Regions from separate parts of the Homo sapiens genome. Here region 2 is linked to region 1. Evidence: promoter capture Hi-C in human tissues and cell types (Jung and others, 2019). All regions are on one chromosome and are shown on one strand. The core of a region is centred on a gene start or on the middle of the fragment in contact, and the rest is flanking DNA. Distances in the headings are between cores, read along the strand shown. Region 1 holds the start of PLEKHH1 (pleckstrin homology, MyTH4 and FERM domain containing H1). Region 2 overlaps PLEK2 (pleckstrin 2).

Region 1 (3,309 bases), core at 304-2,803:
GGTAAATGATGTACACTTTAAATTGCCAGACATTTCTTTGGATTTTTTTTTTTCTATCAGGAATGGGAGGAACATGCTCTCCCCTACAGCTGGTGACTTCTGAAGAGGGCAGAAGAGGCTCCACATTTTTTCAGCTTAGTTGTTAGTTTCAATGAGTTTGGGGCCACAGGCTGCACCCCACAATTGCCCAACTCTGAGCAGGCCCCCTCAGCAGTCTATGGGAAGGTGGTAGAAGTGGACTGAACCATACGTTAGGAATTTAGGAGGCTTGGGTTTCAGTTATGGCTCTTCCACTTTTTAGCTATGTGACCATGGGCATATCACAACAATTTTTTTTTTAACAGACAGGATCATCAGCCTCCCAAGTTAGCTGGGACTACAGGCCCACACCACCACACCCAGCTAATTTTTAAATTTTTATTTATTTGTAGACACAGGGTCTCCCTATGTTGCCCAGGCTGGTCTTGAACTCCTGGCATCAAGCTCTCCTCCTGCCTTGGCTTCCCAAAGTGCTGGGATTACAGGCATAAGCCACTGCAACTGGCCTAAATCACAACTTTTCAGAGTCCCAGCTTCCTCCTTTGGAAAAATGGGGCCAATAATATGCAGAAACACTAATACCGATGTTCTATAAAGCGTTCAGTGATGGTACTAGCCCTATACACAGTGTCTGTCACATAGAAGACAGTCCAAACAGTTTGATGAAGGAACTGATAATTCTCCCACTGAATTTTTTAAATGGTCTTTCAAGTGTTTTACCTGAACCAAGGCTCTGTCTTGGAAGAGTTTTATGAGGTGGATTCATAGTAAAAGCTATGGAGGAGATATCCTGGCAAGCAGAAATCCCACAAGGAGAGGAGTTTCCTTCCAGATGAGGCTCTTCACCGCCTCTGCCACCCCCACTAAGGCCCCTGGTTCCTGGTGACCGAGTCCTCGCTAAGACTCCTAGGACACAATGCTCTGTGTCATTCGGCGCCCAACCTGTTTTCTTTTCTGCTTGAATGACCTGCTCCTAGGAGTCGAGCCTGAGCCATAGGGTCCCAAAGACAACACTCAGAAATCACAGAAGAAATAACCTGAGGTGAGATGGGGAGGGGTGCGGGAAGGGGTGAAAGGGAGCGAGCACCGATAGCAAGGTGGCAGCCTGCACGTCCGCTCCGAGGGCCCTTCCCAGGAGCGGCTGGATCTGACCGATCCCCAAGTCCAGGTACTCCCGGGGGAGGCTCCTCCTGGCCTCGCGGCGCGAGTCCCCTGGGGCGCCCGGCTTCCCAAGCCAGACCCGCGCTCCAGCGCTCCCCGCCGCTGGGAGCTCGCTTCCAGGTAGGGAGGCACCTGCTCCGGATCGTCCTCTGGGCCCGAGGGGCCGTCCCCCGCGCGCAGCCTGACGCCCTCCGCCGCGGCGCAGCCCCAGCCCACCACAGCGGCGGGAGCGCGGGTCGCTCACCTCCAGCGAGCTCGCGGCCGTCCCCGCCGCGCACTGGGCACACGGGCGCCCTCGGGCCGCCGCCGCAGCCGACCTTGCGTCGCTCTCGCCGGAGTCCCGGGCTGCCGCCGGTTCTCCCCTCCCCGGCAGCAGGGGTCGTGGGCTGCGGGGCGGGGCGAGGCTGGAGCGGGAGGGGTGCCCGCGGGCTCGCTGCACAAAGCCCGGCCGAGCCTTGCTGCGCCCCATTCAACGCTCCGCCGGGCGCCCTCCTCCCCTCGGCTCCCCGCCCGCTCCTTAAAGGCAGAGCGCTGGGCTCAGCTCTCCAGGCAGCTCGCGGAGAGGCACAGGAAATGACCTCAGCAGGCTCCAGCCTCCCACTTCTCCGCACCGCTGGGCTCGTCCCTGGGGCGGCAGGGAGGGCGGCGGGGTGTCCCGGGCGCCGGCCCGGAGCTCTCCGAGGAGGCCGCACCAGCTGCCGCAAGGGGTGGCCAGAGCGCCCCGGGGATCTGCTTGACCCCAAATAGCGGGGGACCCTCGCGGGCTGCGGGACAAGACCAGACCGTCTCCGCCAAAGGTTCCAGCATTCTCCTGGCCACCTGTGGGAACTGTAACGTCTGGATATTTGGAACAGAAGTCCATATTTCAGTCTGGCAGACCAAATGTTCTGAGTTGCAATTTGCAGGAGAAAAAGAAAAAATAAGTTACGACAGCCCAGAGAGTAACTTACTTGCTTATTTTCTGGTCTCGCTATGTTGCCCAGGCTGGACTCGAACTCCGGAGCTCAAGTGATCTTCCCGCCTGGGCCTCCAGGCCGGCTTATGTATATGTTATTTTAAAGGAGGGCCCAGGAGGACCCTGGCTGCCAGGCAGTTTGCAGGGCAGTCATCAGCGTGCCCATGTGCTCCTCGTTCTCAGACATTTGCAGATCTCAGATCGCCCAAAGCAATCTCATACCCAGAGGGGTTGGAAAACTCAACATTTGGCTAGGTGAGCCTGGAGTAAAGAAGATGCAAATAGAGACCATTGCAGGGAGGGATCCACACTTCAAAACAGAGCCTTCTTCCTCAACCCTGCAGGCTCTCTGTCAGTGAAGGACTGAACAGAAGCAAAATACCATCAGCGCCTGTTTCTCCAAATGGTCCTTGGAAGACTCATCCCAGGCACCATGAAGAACACCCCCACCCTGGGTTTGAATCTGAATCTCTAACTAAAGTACCCCAGGCCATTCTCACGTAGAAGTTTTGAGAGCCCAGACACTAAGGAAAGCTGGTAGTGCAGGAGGCCAAACGTGAGAATTTAACTGGGCCAATGGGACTTCAATGGCTGAACTTGCAAACAGCTTTATAGCTCGTGGGGATTGGGATAGATTAGCCCCATTTTGTGGGACAATGCTCAGGCTATCCACTTCAACATTCCAGAAGTTGCATAAGGAAGCCCAAAAACACGTTCTCTGGATTTTGCTAAGAAGACATTAATTCATTCATTCACTTTTTTTTTTTTTTTTTTTTTGGACATAGGTTCTTCTTGTTCTGTTCTCCAGGCTGGATTGCAGTGGCACAATCATAGCTCACTGTAACTTGAACTCCTGGGCTCAAGCAATCCTCCCATCTCAGCCTCATGAACAGCTGGGACTATAGGCACATGCTACTATACCCAGCAAAAAAAAAAAAAAAAATTTTTTTTTTTTTTTAGTAGAGGTGGGGTCTCAAACTCCTGGACTCAAGAAATCCTCCTGCCTCGGCCTCCCAAAGTGCTGGGATTACAGGGATGAGCCACCGCACCTCGGCCCAGAACTCATTTAATATAACTTTGTTATATAGTGAAAAGAGACGCACCATGGAGAGTGGAATGGGAGGAGCATGCTCTCCCCTATAGCTGGTTACTTC
Region 2 (3,575 bases), core at 515-3,014, 140 kb after region 1:
TGAGATTGCACCATTGTACTCCAGCCTGGGCGACAGAGCAAGACTCCGTCTCAAGAAAAAAACAAAAAACAAAACAAAACAAAAAAACAAAGCGACCTGGATGGGAAGGAGCTGAAACTATATCCTATGAGAAATGTGTGAAAGACTTGATGCTTAGACACAGGAAAGAGGACGGAAGGGAGCATGACTAACAGGCCATTTGAGGTAGGCATTAATATCCTGTCATTTCCTAATGTGCCCGGGAGTCCACAGCCAAGTGGCAGAGCTGGGGTTTGTGTTCAGATGGGACTGATTTTAAAGCCTGGGCATTTCCCTCTTCAGTGTAGGGGCTGTCATAGGAGGTGAGTCTTCATCTGTGTGGTTCTAGAAGAGAGAACAGAACTAGTGTGTCCAGGAGGCAGGCCCTACAGTAACTACCTTGTCCACAAGGGAAAGGCTGCAGTGTGAGGCCGCAAGCTTCCTGTCACTGGAGGTGTCCAAGTGAATCTTTAAAGACTACCTGCTATGTGGCCGAGGGCTCAGGGCATTTGGCAGTCACTGTCACCTAGATTCTCCCGGGGCCCCGTCATTTTTGCTGCCCGGCGTCCTCTTGCTCTGCCTGAGTGCTGGCCTGACTGGCTCTCTCTTCCCACAGCTCCTCATTAAGCTGAAGACTCAAACATCCACGGAGTACTTCCTGGAGGCCTGTTCTCGAGAGGAGCGGGATGCCTGGGCCTTTGAGATCACCGGGGCTATTCATGCAGGGCAGCCGGGGAAGGTCCAGCAGCTGCACAGCCTGAGAAACTCCTTCAAGCTGCCCCCGCACATCAGCCTGCAGTGAGTGCCCCACTTGCCGGGCTCTGTGGCAGCCTCTCCTGCCTGTGTTGGGTGGGCAGGGGACCCTGCCCCTTGGGGGGGCTCTGTGCTTGCTGCACAGTCTGGCTGGTGCCACCACGGTGCTTCAGGGCCTTCAGCTGTTCCTGTCCTGTGTATATTATTTTCTCTGCTTGGGAGTGGCCCTACCTACCTGCCCCATTCCTATGGGATCTCTCGTGGCTCTTGCCACCTCTGCACACCTCCATGACACAAGACCCCCATTCCATTTCAGCCAGGGTGCTCAGGGCTGTGTCACAGCTCCCCCAAAATCTCGTCTTAGTCTGTTTTCTGTTACTTATAACAGAATACCTGAAATTGGGTAACTCATAAGGAGGGATTTATTTCTTATCATTATAGAGGCTGGGAAGTCCAAGGTTGAGGGGCTGCATCTGGTGAGGGCCTTCTTGCTGGTGGGAGTTCTCTGCAGAGTCCTGAGGCAGTGCAGGGCATCACACAGTGAGGGGGCTGAGCATGCTAACATGCTTGCTCCGATCTCTCTTCCTCTTATAAAGCCACCAGTCCCATTCCCATGATAATTCATTAATTCATTTAACCCATTAATCCATTCACAAGGGCAGAGCCCCCATGACCCAATCACCTCTTAAAGGCATCACCTCTCAATATTGCCACATTGGGGATTTTCAACATGAGTTTTGGGATAAACATTCAAACCACAGTAAATCTCCACCAACCTCCCAGGCAAAAGAACTGTTAACACCCATCAAAGATGTATGAATCCATTCCTGGGCTCACAAAAACTCCCCACCAGGCACTGAAATCTTGACTGTACACCTCCTATGGGTCTAGGTGGGTGCAGGGAGGATCAGCTGCAGATAAAGGTGGGTAGGCAGGTGGGTTTAAAGATAGTTGGAAAAGTAGCTGAGGGGGTTTGGACTTAATGCAGGGGATCACAGAGAACCATGTGGGCTACTGTGCACTCTTGGGGCTTTTTTGTTTTTCTTTTTTGGGGACAGGGTCTCACTCAGTTGCCCGGGCTGGAGTGCAGTGGCTCGATCATGGCTCACTGCAGCCTTGACCTCCTGGGCTCAAGTGATCCTCCCACCTCAGTATCCCAAAGCACTGGGATGACAGGTATGAGCCACTGTGCCCAGCATACACTCTTGTTTGTAAGTTAAAAGTCACACCTCTTTGGTTTTACTACAAAAGCAGTGTGTGTCTGGCATAGAAATATAAGAACATTTAGATAAGGAGAAGAAAAGAAATGTCTGAAAATCCTGCCTCTCAAATTTGGAGGCATAACTGAACACCCTGTTCTGTGGTGAGGAGGTATAAACAAACCTACCTGCAAGGGGAGCTGAGAGGCAGGAGAAAGAGGCTGACAATTCCAGTTTCTCACAAAGAGGCATTTAATAGGGACTTACAAACAGAAGTGATGTCCCTGCTGGCCTAGAGACAGCGAATCACCACACTTGTCTTCCAGAAAATATCCTTTATATAGCAAGCTTTTTTGGGAAAATGTGCAGCTAGTGGTGCCTCAGACTTTCTTGTGAAACCTGTGACCACTGGGGAGGTTAGATAAACATCTTTATGAGGGGTGAGCCGTGCTATGGGAACACCGTGGTATGCAGGAGTCAAACATCCATCATCAGGCCAGGCACGGTGGCTCACACCTGTAATCCCAGTACTTTCGGAGGCTGAGGCAGGCGGATCACTTGAGGTCAGGAGTTCGAGACCAGCCTGGTCAACATGGTGAAACCCCATCTCTACTAAAACTACAAAAATTAGCCAGGTGTGGTGGCAAATGTCTGTAATCCCAGCTGCTCCGGAGGTTGAGGCAGGAGAATCACTTGAACCTGGGAGGCGGAGGTCACAGTTAGCCGAGATCTTGCCACTGCACTCCAGCCTGGGTGACGGAGCGAGACTCTGTCTCAAAAAACAAACAAAAAACAACAACAACAAAAATCAATCATCATGGCGGCTTCACTTCAAGATGGCATCACTCTTGCCATTCAAAAGGCTGCTTTCCTACACCCCTTTTCTTTGTGATGTGTGTCACACCATTTGCCACTTGCTTTATACCCTTAGCAGTGACTCAGGACCCTCCCTTATACCTGCCCGCGTGATGAGGGTTCCCTCTCCTTTGCCTTCCCTTCCATGTAGTCGCATTGTGGACAAGATGCACGATAGCAACACCGGAATCCGTTCAAGCCCCAACATGGAGCAGGGAAGCACCTATAAAAAGACCTTCCTCGGTGAGCCTGTCCCCCAGGGCCGGGCTGGGCAGTCAAGCTGGGACATGGTGATGCAGGGCTCAGCTGTGTGCTTGACCGCCCTGTATTGAGGTCAGAGCTGCCTGCTGGGCAACAGGCTAGCCTGAGATGGCCATGTGTGGGTGTGCAGCCACGGCTCTATGCAGCAGGTGTGGCCTTCAGTCTGCTCTTGCGTAGAGCCCTGAGGCTGCCCAGAGGGCCAAGGTCAGTGAGGTCATTGGCCACACACCCCAAGGACGCTGGTCCATCACCCATCGCCTGACTGGTGCTGCCCTTGGCCAGGCTCCTCCCTGGTGGACTGGCTCATCTCCAACAGCTTCACGGCCAGCCGTCTGGAGGCGGTGACCCTGGCCTCCATGCTCATGGAGGAGAACTTCCTCAGGCCTGTGGGTGTCCGAAGCATGGGAGCCATTCGCTCTGGGGATCTGGCCGAGCAGTTCCTGGATGACTCCACAGCCCTGTACACTTTTGTAAGTTGGGGAGTGGGTT

What was found. Contacts are between HindIII fragments. The study calls those that stand out against the background at their distance.
Region 2: a contact is called between a fragment that was not itself captured here and the fragment with the promoter of PLEKHH1 in region 1, in 1 of the 25 tissues and cell types used here (H1 embryonic stem cells).

Annotation. Positions count from the first base shown.
Region 1 is chr14:67,531,534-67,534,842 of GRCh38, reverse strand. It overlaps PLEKHH1 (pleckstrin homology, MyTH4 and FERM domain containing H1), which reads right to left and starts at 1,553. Exons shown (of 29, transcript NM_020715.3): 1 at 1,445-1,553. It also overlaps a transcript of GPHN not described here and a transcript of TMEM229B not described here. RefSeq lists a silencer at 1,460-1,929. The HindIII fragment of the contact is 40,466 bases long and covers 1-3,309 here.
Region 2 is chr14:67,392,643-67,396,217 of GRCh38, reverse strand. PLEK2 (pleckstrin 2) reads left to right here. Exons shown (of 9, transcript NM_016445.3): 3 at 635-816; 4 at 2,977-3,068; 5 at 3,369-3,556. It also overlaps a transcript of GPHN not described here. Among named protein-coding and RNA genes, the nearest start is that of PLEK2, 18 kb to the left of the region's middle. The HindIII fragment of the contact is 4,611 bases long and covers 1-3,575 here.